3 separate regions of the Homo sapiens genome follow, and regions 1 and 2 are each linked to region 3. Evidence: promoter capture Hi-C in human tissues and cell types (Jung and others, 2019). All regions are on one chromosome and are shown on one strand. Each heading gives the region's core, a stretch centred on a gene start or on the middle of the fragment in contact. The rest is flanking DNA. Distances are from core to core; before and after follow the strand shown. Region 1 has its middle 8.4 kb from the start of DAGLB. Region 2 has its middle 30 kb from the start of CCZ1B. Region 3 holds the start of ZNF853 (zinc finger protein 853).

What was found. Contacts are between HindIII fragments. The study calls those that stand out against the background at their distance.
Region 1: a fragment that was not itself captured here is called in contact with the fragment with the promoter of ZNF853 in region 3 in 1 of the 25 tissues and cell types used here (aorta).
Region 2: a fragment that was not itself captured here is called in contact with the fragment with the promoter of ZNF853 in region 3 in 1 of the 25 tissues and cell types used here (dorsolateral prefrontal cortex).

What each region holds. Positions count from the first base shown.
Region 1 is chr7:6,454,269-6,458,384 of GRCh38, reverse strand. No RefSeq gene overlaps it. Among named protein-coding and RNA genes, the nearest start is that of DAGLB, 8.4 kb to the right of the region's middle. The HindIII fragment of the contact is 6,615 bases long and covers 1-4,116 here.
Region 2 is chr7:6,854,391-6,858,738 of GRCh38, reverse strand. It overlaps the pseudogene UNC93B2. Among named protein-coding and RNA genes, the nearest start is that of CCZ1B, 30 kb to the right of the region's middle. The HindIII fragment of the contact is 9,684 bases long and covers 1-4,348 here.
Region 3 is chr7:6,612,967-6,617,312 of GRCh38, reverse strand. ZNF853 (zinc finger protein 853) reads right to left here and starts at 1,703. Exons shown (of 3, transcript NM_017560.3): 1 at 1,127-1,703; 2 at 6-123. The coding sequence starts at 1,138. RefSeq lists enhancers at 2,066-2,819, 2,820-3,573. The HindIII fragment of the contact is 23,550 bases long and covers 1-4,346 here.

The DNA of each region.
Region 1 (4,116 bases), core at 234-2,733, 160 kb after region 3:
TCTCCTGACCTCATGATCCGCCTGCCTCGGCCTCTCAAAGTGCTGGGATTACAGGTGTGAGCCATCGGGCCCAGCCGAAATTTTACTTCTTAAAAAAATTTGTGGGCTGGGCGCAGTGGGTCACACCTTTAATCCCTACACTTTGAGAGGCTGAAGTGGGTGGATCACTTGAGGCCAGGAGTTCCAGACCAGCCTGAAACTGGACATGGTGAAACCCCGTCTCTACTAAAAATACAAAAATTAGCCAGGCATGGTGGCATACGTCTGTAATCCCAGCTACTCAGGAGGCTGAGGCATGAGAATCGCTTGAACCCAGGAGATGGAGGTTGCAGTAAGTGGAGATTGCACCACTGCACTCCAGCCTGGGCTACAGAGGGAGACTCTGTCTGAAAAAAAAAAAGAAAAAGAAAAAGAAGCAAAAAATTGTGGCTCATGCCTGTAATCCTAGCACGTTGGGAGGCTTGAGGCCAGGAGTTCAAGACTAGCCTGGGCCACATGGCAAAACCCAGTCTCTACTAAAAATGCAAAAAAATTAGCCAGATGTGGTGGCACGTGCCTATAGTCTGAGCTACTCAGGTGGCTGAGGTGGGAGGATCGCTTGAGCCTGGGAGGTGGAGGTTGCAGCGAGCCAAGATCACACCACTGTACTCCAGCCTGCAGAACAGAATGAAACACTGTCTCAAAAATAAAATAAAATAAAATAAAATTTGTATACTACCAGTTTCCCAAAAGAGATTTCTTTGAAATTAAATTGTTTTGTAGGGTTTTGTTATTGTTTGTAACATTAAGTTCACAATACCTTTACTTATACTAACAAAAGTTTATGTAGAAACATTATCTTATTGCTAAGTACAAATCCTGTTTTTAAAAGAACTATTACTTTTAAGAATTTGGCAGGCATGAGGTGGGGCATGGTGGCTCATGCCTGTAATCCCAGCACTTTGCGAGGCCGAAGCGGACGGATCACCAGAGATCAGGAGTTTGAGACCAGTCTGTCCAACATGGTGAAACCCCATCTCTACTAAAAATACAAAAAAAAAAAAATTAGCTGGGTATGGTGGTGCGTGCCTGTAATCCCAGCTACTCGGGAGGCTGAGGTCGGAGAATCGTTTGAACCCGGAAGGCAGAAGTTGCAGTGAGCTGCGATCGCACCACTGCACTCCAGCCTGGGTGACAGAGTGAGACTCTGTCTCAAAAAAAAAAAAAAAAAAAAAAGGATTTGGCAGGCATGGTAGCTCATGCCTGTAATCCTAGCACTTTGGTTTGGGAGGACGAGGTGGGTGGATCGCTTGAACTCAGGAATTTGACCAGCCTGGGCAACGTGGCAAAACCCGTCTCTACAAAAAATACAAAAATTAGTCAGGTGTTGTGCTGTGCACCTATAGTCCCAGCTACTTAGGAGACTGAAGCAGGAGGATCACTTGAACCTTGGGAAGTCGAGGCTACAGTGAGCTGAGAGTGGGCCACTGTGTTCCAGTGTGGATGACAAAGTAAGACCCTGTCTAAAAAAAGAAAAAGAAAAAAAAAAGTCGAGGCCAGGAGCAATGGCTCACGCCTGTAATCCCAGCACTTTGGGAGGCCAAGGCGGGCAGATTACAAGGTCTGGAGTTCGAGACCAGCCTGGCCAACATAGTGAAAACCTGTCTCTACTAAAAATACAAAAAATAAGCCGGGTATGGTGACACACGCCTGTAGTCCCACCTACTCGGGAGGCTGAGGCAAGAGAATCACTTGAACCCAGGAGGCAGAGGTTGCAGTGAGCCGAGATCCACCACTGCATTCCAGCCTGGGCAACAGAACGAGACTCCGTCCTCCCCGCCCCCCCAAAAATAAATAAATAAATAAATGTAAATATATAAATAAATATATGTGTGTGTATATATATATATATATATATATATATATATATATATATACACACGATCATAGGCACAACCTACTACTGAATTAATGGTGGCTCAGCGTTTTGGTTATATATTTGCATGCCACACATACGTATCACGATATGTTTGTGTGTATGTAATTACGGAGAGATTAGGCAAAGTTGAACAAGCATCATTTGAAAATAAACTTTGTTTTCATGCATACATAAAATTAGAGAACTTGTTTTACCTCACCCTTAAGTTTTAAATAGTTTATTTATTTTATTTATTTTTTTCAGACGGAGTCTTGCTCTGTCGCCCAGGCTGAAGGGCAGTGGTGGGATCTCGGCTCACTGCAACCTCCGCCTCCCAGGTTCAAGTGATTCTCGTGCCTCAGCCTTCCAAGTAGCTGGGATTACAGGTGCCCAAAACCATGCCTGGCTAAGTTTTTTGTATTTTTAGTAGAGATGGGGTTTCCTCATGTTGGCCAGGCTGGTCTCGAACTCCTGACCTCAAATGATCCGCCTGCCTCAGCCTCCCAAAGTACTGTGATTACAGGCGTGAGCCACTGCACCTGGCCCAGTCTTGGGTACTTTAAAGAAACTCCTAGATGGCATATTTCATCCATAGATACTACATTCTAGTCCTAGTTGATAAAGACTTTTTATCACACCAACAAAGTTAGTACTTCTTTTTTTTTGAGATGCAGTCTCGCTCTGTCGCCCAGGCTGGAGTGCAGTGGCACATCTCGGCTCACTGCAAGCTCCGCCTCCCGGGTTCACGCCATTCTTCTGCATCAGCCTCCCGAGTAGCTGGGACTACAGGCGCCCCCCCAGCAAGCCCGGCTAATTTTTTCTATTTTTTTTAGTAGAGATGGGGTTTCACCGTGCTAGCCAGGGTTGTCTTGATCTCCTGACCTCGTGATCTGCCCGCCTCGGCCTCCCAAAGTGCTGGGATTACAGGCGTGAGCCACCGTCCCTGGCTAGTAATTCTTAAATATCATCTAACAGTCTATGTTCAAATTTTCCTGTCTCAAAAACATCTTTTTATCTCTGATCAATGGTGTCCAGCAAAAAAAAAAAAAAAAAACCAAAAACATATTTTTTATGGTTTGTCAATTTGAAGCACATCCAAAGCCTGCACGTAGCAGAAGCAGATTATCACTTTTTTTCTTTCTTTCCTTCTTTTTTTTTTTTTTTTTTTTTTTTGGAGGGAGGGTCTCTCTCTGTTGCCCAGGCTAGGGGGCAGTGGTGCCATCATAGCTCACTGCAGTCTTTAACTCCTTTAACTCCTGGGCTCAAGCAATCCTCCCACCACAGCCTTCTGAGTACTTAGGACTACAGGCCCATGCCAAGACACCTGGCCAATTCTTAAATTTCTTGTAGAGACGGAGGTCTCACTATGTTACCCAGGCTGGTCTCCAACTCCCGGGCTCAAGTGATCCTCCCGCCTCAGCCTCCCAAAATGCTGGGATTACAGGTGTGAGTCACCATGCTCAGCCTGGCCCACTTTTATAACTAAAGGCTTAAAACTCACCAGCAACAGCCACGCTTTTAGAGTATATAGTAGTGCGTGCTGTGGTGGTATTTAGTAACTAACCCATCAAAAAAACTAATATATGCACATATATACATACTTTTTTTTTTTTTTTGAGTTGGAGTCTCAGTCTGTCGCCAGGCTGGAGTGCAGGGCGCGATCTCGGCTCACTGCAACCTCTGCCTCCCAGGGTCAGCGACCTCCCTGCCTCAGCCTCCTGAGTAGCTGGGACTACGGGTGCGCACCACCACGCCCAGCTAATTTTTGTATTTTTAGTAGAGACGGGGTTTCACCATGTTGGCCGGGATGGTCTGGATCTTTTGACCTTGTGCCCTATCCGCCTCGGCCTCCCAAATTGCTGGGATTACAGGCGTGAGCCACCGTGCCCGGCCCATACACATACATTTATTGTACATTTTACTGATTCAAAGAATGTTGTGTTGGAGATCCCCCAAACCACCTTCAAGTTGAGTGATTTTTTTTTTTTTTTTTTTTTTGAGACAGAGTCTCTCTCTGTCACCCAGGCTGGAGTGCAACTGCAATCTCGGCTCACTGCAACCTCTACCTCCTGGGTTCAAGGGATTTTCCTGCCTCAGCCTCCCAAGTACCTGGGATTACAGGTGCATGGCAGCACGCCTGGCTAATTTTTATATTTTTAGTATCACCATGTTGCTCAGGCTGGTCTCAAACTCCCGACTTCAAGTGATCTACCTGCCTC
Region 2 (4,348 bases), core at 1,002-3,501, 240 kb before region 3:
GGCAGAGGTCATGCCTGCTGCTGGCAGGGCAGAGGCTGGCTCGGTGTCTCTGTCTGTAGCAGGGGCTGGAGCCTCATACTGCACCACAGTCTCTTGGCCGTTTTGCCCAAGGATAGCCAATTCTGGGCCGAGTCCAACCTGGGTATCTTGGACCCATGTTGTGCCCTGTCTGGTCATGGCATCCCCTCTGCCCAGCTCCATATCCCATCTCCACAGGTGAACCCTGGGGGATCCTTGTCTCTTCATAGCAGCACTGTGGGGGTAAAGTCACCCTGCAGGGCCCCAAGACAGGAGTGTTCATGTCCTGAGTGCCTGGTGAAGGTGTTAATAGTGGCCCCTATGATTTGGCAGGTGCCATGCCCACTTTCTCACTTTAGAACTTCAGAACACAGCACACTATAGGCATAGGCTCATCTCACCATTGGGAAAAGCAGCTCTGGGGAGTTAAGTACCCAAATCACCCACAGAACCAACGTTACAGTCCTGAGAACGAGTGTGCATCTTCTGACTCCCAATCCATTACTCTTGTTGCCCACCCTGGGAGGACTCACCGGAAAGGAAGCCCCCCTCTCCATGCTTAGCTTCAGGTTTGATTTGCAGAGTTGGCAGCTGCAAACAGTTGGATCTCTCTAGTCCCGGCTGAGGAGGAGAAACAGCGCCTGCAAGCTTGGCACTGCACACCTGGGGTTGGGGACAGAACATGACTAAGCACAGAGCTTTCTTCTTTTGAGGCCACGCATGTGGTGTGGAGCGGGACCACCTGCATCCACACAGCCTGGCGAACCTGCTCCTACTTCTGCTTAGCGTGTGAGCAGTGTGGTGACCAGGGTCTCCACCAGGGGGCAGGCCAGGACCGGCTCACAGCACTTTCTAGGCGCTTTCTGGTCCCGGGCTGGGACACATACAGGGCTTAGTAAAGTTCATAGATGGTAGCTCGGCAGCCCCAGGCCCCAGGTGACACCTCTCCCCTGCCTGCCCTGTACTGCCTGCTTGCAGCACTCCTGGGAATCTTGTACGAAGACAAGGAGAGACAGGACTTCATCTTCACCATCTACCACTGGTGGCAGGCTGTGGCCATCTTCACCGTGTACCTGGGCTCCAGCCTGCACATGAAGGTGAGACTGGGCAGGGTTGGGGGCCCCATGCCCAATGACAGGTACTTCCTTAGCCCCTGCCCTGGCTTCACAGCTTCCTAAACGCCACCCCTTCCCTAGCCAGTCTCTGGGCCAAGGCCCCATTCCTGCAGCCCACTGGGTGGCCCCCAACTCAGCACCCCACTTACTGGCCCACCTCCAGCCAGTCTCAGTTTGCCCATCTCTGAGGGGATTTGTGGGTGCATCACAGCCATCCTGTGGGTTGTTTGGTACCCTGTTCTCCAGATGTTGGGTCTGTCTCCCTTCATGGCCTGAAGGGGAGCAGGCTCCTCATGTTCTGCTCCCAAAAGATGGTGGCTCGGTCTAGGAAGTCCCAGTTGCTAAACATTTTTTAAAAATAGAACTAAAGGCCGGGTGCAGTGGCTCACGCCTGTAATCCCAGCACTTTGCGAGGCCGAGGCGAGTGGATTGCCTGAGGTAGGGAGTTTGAGACCAGCCTGACCGACATGGTGAAACCTCGTCTCTACTAAAAATACAAAAATTAGCCGGGCATGATGGCAGGTGCCTCTAACCACAGCTACTCGGGAGGCTGAGGCAGGAGAATCGCTTGAACTGGGAGGCGGATGTTGCAGTTAGCCGAGACGGGGCCTTGGCACTCCATCCAGCCTAAACAACAAGAGCGAAACTGCGTCTCAAAAAAAAAAATAAAAATAAAAATAGAACTAAAAATACTAGGGAGTGGGCCGGGAGCAGTGGCTCATGCCTGTAATCCCAGCATTTTGAGACGCTGAGGTGGGGGTATCACCTGAGGTCTGGAGTTCGAGACCAGCCTGGGTAACAGGCTGTAAAACCCTGTCTCTACTAAAAACAAAAATTAGCTGGGCATGGTGGCGCATCCCTGTGATCCCAGCTACTCTGGAGGCTGAGGCACAAGAATGGCTTGAACCTGGAAGATGGAGATTGCAGTGAGCCAAGATCGCGCCACCGCACTTCAGCCTGGAGGACAGAGCGAGACTCTGTCTCCCAAAGAAAAAAGAAAAAAAAAGAAAAAAGAAAAGCAGTGAGTGGGCTGGGCATGGTGGCTCACCCCTGTAATCCCAACACTTTGGGAGGCTGAGGCAGGAGGATTGCTTGAGGCCAGAAGTTCAAGACCAGCCTGGGCAACATAGGAGACCCTGTCTCTACAAGAAATTTAAAAATTAGCTGGGCGTGGTGGCGCGTGCCTGTAGTTCCAGCTGCTTGTGAGACTGAGGTGGGAGGATGGCTTGAGCCTGGAAGATTGAGGCTGAAGTGAGCATGGCACTGCGCTCCAGCAGTGGGTGGGGGAAGGGAGGGAGGGGGCGCGGTGGGGAAACGGAGCAACCGTGTCTGGAAAAAAGAAAAGAGCAGGAAGTATGCATACAGATATGTGTGTGTGTACTGAGCTATGGTGTGAAATCATTCCTGACTGCGGGTTATAGTCAAAACCCCATGAAAAGCATCACTACAGCCCACGGGTGTGTCAGGGACACAGTGTTGTGAGCCCTGGGAAGGCAGGGCCTGTGGCCAGCACTTTATCAACACTGGCGCATGCACCCTAAGAGGCAAAGGGATTTGCATTGTCCCCTTACAGCGTGGGACACTGAGGTCGCCAGGGGCATGGCGACTGTAAGGGACAGTGCTGGATGTGAGCCTCGCCTGCAGGAGGCGGTCCAGGAAACGTGGGTGGAGGGGCTGGAGAAATTGAGGGCCGCGTGGCCCGGGAGGCTCCCGGAGGAGGGAAGGGCCTATCTCAGCGAGGGGTATAGGCGGAGAAGGTGCGGGGCGAGGCGGCCGCGGGTCCCTGGCATCCCTCTCCTTACGCCCAGGCTAAGCTGGCGGTGCTGCTGGTGACGCTGGTGGTGGCCGCGGTCTCCTACCTGCGGATGGAGCAGAAGCTGCGGCGGGGCGTGGCCCCGCGCCAGCCCCGCATCCCGCGGCCCCAGCACAAGGTGCGCGGTGACGGCTACTTGGAGGAGGACAACTCGGACGAGAGCGACGCGGAGGGCGAGCATGGGGACGGCGCGGAGGAGGAGGCGCCGCCCCCGGGGCCCAGGCCTGGCCCCGAGCCCGCTGGACTCGGCCGCCGGCCCTGCCCGTACGAACAGGCGCAGGGGGGCGACGGGCCGGAGGAGCAGTGAGGGGCCGCCTGGTCCCCGGACTCAGCCTCGCTCCTCGCCGGCCTCAGTTTACCACGTCTTAGGTCGGGGGGACCCCCTCCGAGTCTCGCGCTGTCTTCGAAGGCCCCTGTCTCCCTTCCCCCACGTTGGGGACGCCCCTCCCAGAGCCCGGGTCACCTCCGGGCTTCCGCAGCCCCCTCCAAGGCGGAGTGGAGCCTTGGGAACTCCCCGGCCAAGCACAGGGGTTCGAAAATACAGCTGATACCCCGCGGGCCCTTAGCACGCGCCCCAGCGCCGGAGCAGGGTCAGGGTCTTCTTGCGACCCGGCCCCGCTCCAGATCCCCCCAGCTCTCGGCCGCGGACCCGGGCCGCGTGTGAGCGCCCTTTGCACCTCCTATCTCCAGGGTCCGCCGAGAGCCACGATTTTTTACAGAAAATGAGCGATAAAGAGATTTTGTACTGTCCTGACTGGAGAGTCCCAGGCCGCGGGGGACGGAGCGCCCCTGGGATGCACGCCCGGCTGGCCCGGCCTCTGGGCGCGGTGGTGAGAGGCCCTGACCTAGGGGGACCGCGGGGTGTGGGGAGTGCGGAGCCCCACTGGGGGCGGGGCGAGGTGTCCGTAGGCCCCGCCCACCAGCCCCTCCTCCCTCCTGAGGCCCCGCCCCCCCATGCCTGCCTGCCTTTGCCAGCCTCAGCCAGGAGAAGGGAGCGGGGGAGCGGCTGGCAGAGACAGAGGAGGGTGTGACGGCGTTGCTGGTCCCCCATGGGTCCAGAGGGCGAGACAGACTCCGAAGGCACACCCTCCAGGGGCCTGTGTAGGCATCCTCGGCCCTCCAGCGACCACCCCCGCGTCGGACAGGGTCCACTTCCGAGCCACGGTGGGGTCACCCTGTGCCCAGTAGGGGCCTTGGAAGTAGTGGTTGGAGGCCAGGTACGCTCGGTTACTACCCTTTCCTGGCTACAGCCTCAGCTGCGATGCCCAAGAGAAACAGGCTGGTGGAGGGGCAGACCCCCTACAAGGCCTGAAGGTGCCGTTCCTCCACCCGCTCCTCTTGTGGCCAGAGGAGAGGGACACCCCCGCCATGAAGAGCTCTGAACGGTTGGGTGAGGACAAGT
Region 3 (4,346 bases), core at 454-2,953:
CTCACCTGAGAGGGTGTCAGGCCCTGGGCCCCCATCCTCAAGACATTGAAGTTCCAGCACGAAGGTCTCGGTGGCTGGCCCCACTTCCATCCTGGCGGTCAGACCCCGATTCCCGGGAGTCGGCTGTGCTGAAAGGAAGGAAGCAGTTTAGCCAGGCTGGAGTGCTTTGACCCCCGCCAGGTGCCCACAGGCCCCCAAAGGCCCTCCACCTCTGCCTCGGGCCACCCAGAGCGGTCAGCTCCATACCTGCTGCAACTATAGGACTGTCCCCCGCAACGGGGAACGGGGAGTGCCGGCGGCCTGGAGGCTCAGGACTGGGGAGTTGGCAGACAGCACCAGAGGCTGTCACCTGCATAGAGGCAGGACTGCCTCTCCTGACTTTTCACAGCGGGATGGAGAGTGGGGTAGCCCCACAGAGACACAACTGTGGGTATCAGCCCTTCACAAGGGAGGAAAGCTAGAGTCACCAAAGGGACATTCAGGGCGGGGAGCTCTGGGGCCAAAGAGAGACTGTCCATCAACATCCTCCCTGCCTCCTTCAATTCTTTTTTTATTAAATACTTTTTTTTTTTTTTCTTGATACGGATTCTCACTCTGTCACCCAGGCTGGAGTGCAGTGGTGCGATCTGGACTCACTGCAACCTCCGTCTCCCCAGTTCAAGCGATTCTCCTGCCTCCGCCTCCTGAGTAGCTGGGGCTACAGGTGCGTGCCATCACCCCCAGCTAATTTTTATGTTTTTTTATATTGTAGATGATGTTGCCCAAGGCTGGTCTCGAACTCCTGGCCTCAGGCGATCCTCCTGCCTCGGCCTCCTAAAGTGTTGGGATTATAGGAGTGAGCCACTGCGCCTGGCGCCCTTCCATTCTATTGCCTTCCTGGCCTGCTCTGAGAAGGCCGCCAGCAGGCCACGTGTGTCAGCTGCCACCCCAGCTCCCGGGCAAGGCAGGTGTCCAGAGCACTGTCACCCACGGCCTGGCCCTGTGCCCAGGCGCTCCTGAGAGTCCACCCTGGCCCGTGCAGAGCTGGCCCCTCTCCCCTAAACAGGCCGACTCGTGCCATCCAGTCCAAACTCTCTCAAGGGACGCGTCCCCGGTTGCCCAGCGCCAACGACCCCCTGGGCCTCACCTGGTGGAGCATTTCCTGCTCCCGGGCAGCCTCTGCGCTAGGGAGGTGTGGTCAGCAGAGGCTGCGAGGTGAAGGCCACGGCGTGCAGCCGGCTCCTTCCGGAGGCGCCTCCATCCAGAAAGAGCCAGGAGGCGCAGGGCCACCCCGGGGGCTTTCTGGGCACTCCGGAGGGTCCACGCCCTCTGGGCTGCCGAGGTCGCCCTGGGCCAAGGGAAGGGGCTGAGAGGAGCGGCCGAGCAGAAGTTGGTGGAGACTCTCCGGCGGGGGCTGGGGCGGGAGGCAGGGCCCCGAATCCCGCGCGGGGCTCAGGGCCGGCCCCCCGGGACCATCGCGGGCAGCGGGATCCAGGCCGGCGCCCGGGGTCGGCACCACGGGGTGGCCCCGCCTGGGGTCGGCGGCGGCCAGGCGACGCGGGTCCTCGGGGGCTACAGGTGCCCGGAGCCTGCGGGCGGCCTGGGCCGGGCCGCGCGGGGGCCGGGGCGGGGGCGGGGCGGGCGCCGCGGCAAGGCCGGGTCCCCCTGGGCTCGCCCGCCCGCCCGGGAGTGCGTCCGTGCGGGCCGCTGGCCGGGCCGGGGGCGGGGGCGCGGGGGCCGGCACAGGAAGTCCCCCCGGCATCCGCATCCTGTCCCCCGCCCCTGCCCGCCCGCCGCGCCCCCGCGCCCCGGCCCCCGCCGCCGCCGCCGCCGTCGCCGCCGCCGCTCTAGGCAGCCGCAGCTCGGTGGGCTTAACCATTCCCGGCCCGGCCACTCACCCGGCCCGGGGGACACGATGCGGCGGCCCCTGGGGCGTCCCGGGCTGGCCGGTGCCGAGCGCAGCGCGCGCTGTGCCGCATCCCTGCTGCGCGTGTCCTCGCGCCACGGGGTTGGCGACTGTCACTGCCTGGGTGTCTGGGTGGGGGGTACCCAACCCGATCCCTGCCACCCCCTAGAGGGCAGGCGTGGCCTCGGGGCGCCCCTGCCGCGGTGCAAATTGTGGCTAATTAGCACACAATTCGATGGCACTCGGAGAGGGAGTAGGCGCCATCCGGGCCCGGCCCGAGCGGGCCCTGGAGAGGCCACCCCGGTCCGCACCGTGGAGCCCTCCTCCTAGACCCCGGGGCTGGGGAGGGCAGGCCAGTAGGGAGTGTGTGCCTCCCTCCCCCGATCAGGGACTGTGACCTGCATAGATCAAATGAGGCCACCGTGGAGAACTGGCAGAGCTGGAATCCTCCCGCCCAGCGCCCCTGCGGCCTTTCGCTGACCACAAGGCTGGTGGTCAGGCCTCCCACCTCCCTCACCCTCTCCTCTCCTCTTTCCCTACTTGGCAAGTGGATTCCTGCCTGGGTCAGGGGTCTTCTCCAAGGGAGGCCTTCCCTAACCCCGTCTTAATGTTGCACCACCTAACTTTCCTGTTCTCGGTGCACAAACCTCTCTAACCTGGAGAATTCAAATTCAAATTGGGATGCTCAAATTCTTTAGAAAAAACCAAAGATCTGGGGGCAGGGCATGGTACTTCACGCCTGTAAACCCAGCATTTCGGGAGGATCACTTGAGGCTGGTAGTTTGAGACCAGCCTAGCCAACATAGCAAGACCCCATCTCTACAAAAGAGGTTTTTAAAAAATTAGCTGGGCTACTGAAAAGTAGCCTGTAATCCCAACTACTTTGGAGGCCAAGGTGGGTGGACCACTTGAGCCCGGGAGGAGGTCGAGGCTGCAGTGAACTATGATCGCGCCACTGCACCCCAGCCTGGGTGATAGAGTGAGACCCTGTCTCCATCTAAAAACAAGCAAACATGCTGGGCGCGGTGGCTCACGCCTATAATCCCAGCACTTTGGGAGGCCGAGGCGGGCAGATCACCTGAGGTCTGGAGTTGGAGACCAGCCTGGCCAACATGGAGAAACTCCATCTCTACTAAAGATACAAAATTGGCCGGGCATGGTGGCACATGCCTGTAACGCCAGCTACTCTGGAGGCTGAGGCAGGAGAATCGCTTGAATCTGGGAGGTGCTCCTGGGGTGCAGCAGGAATGCCCCCCTGGTGGGGGACAAGAGCCCTCAGGGTTCACAGCCCCCTCCCTTCCTCCTGTCCCTGGGCTCACACTGCTGTGGCACAGGTGGCCACCTTGTCCTGTTTTTGGAATCTCTCTGGCCCCCACAGGCACTGGAGTTTCAGGCTTCCTTTCTGGCCCTTGCCTGAAAAGCCTGCACTCTGGTGGCTTCTGCCCCAGGCTAGAAAAAGTGCAGCAAGAGCCTGGCTTTGGAGACAGAGTCATCTAGGGTCATGGGACCTTTTGCAGCCAGGTAACTGCAGGCAAATGACTGCCTTGCGTCTGTGAAGTGGAGATGACAGCCTGCTAGGCAGGATAAGGACGAGCAGATAAGGTGAGGAGGATATGGGCAGGAGTTTAAGATCAGAGCAGGTGTGCACCTGCCTCTTCTAGCCTCCTGCAAACCCTCATGCCCTGAGGAGCCCCTCCCTCCTCAGGTCTTTATCCTCTCCCTCCACTGGCTTCTTTCTGACAGGATTTACACATCCTCAGGGCTCTCCCATCTTAAAAACATGCTACCCGGGCCAGGCGCAGTGGCTTATGCTTGTAATCCCAGCACTTTGGGAGGCCAAGGCAGGAGAATCGTGAGAGCCCTGGCTTTGGAGGCTGCAGTGAGGCATGATCATGCCACTGCACTCCAGCCTTGGCGACAGAGCAAGACTGTCTGCTGGCCGGGCACGGTGGCTCACGCCTGTAATCCTAGCATTTTGGGAGGCTAAGGTGGGCAGATCATGAGGTCAAGAGATAGAGACCATCCTTGCCGACATGGTGAAACCCTGTCTCTAATAAAAATACAAAAAAAAATATATATATATATATATATATATAGTTTGGCGTGGTGGCGCATGCTGTAGTCCCAGCTACTCAGGAGGCTGAGGCAGGAAAATCACTTGAACCCAGGAGGCAGAGGTTGCAGTGAGCCGAGATCACGCCACTGCACTCCAGCCTGGCGACAGTGTGAGACTCCGTCTCAAAAAAAAAAAAAAAAAAAAGACTGTCTGTAAAACATAAAAGAGCTACCCACTTCTCTCTCCTGCCCTTGACAGCCAAACTTCCTTTGCCATATCCCCATCTGCCCATCCCTCCTTCTCCTCTCTGACCTGGCCTCACTGCAGCCAGACAACTCCCCGTGACGTCACCAGCAATGTCCACGTCACTAAACCCTCATCATATTTGGCCTCTGGGCAGCACTG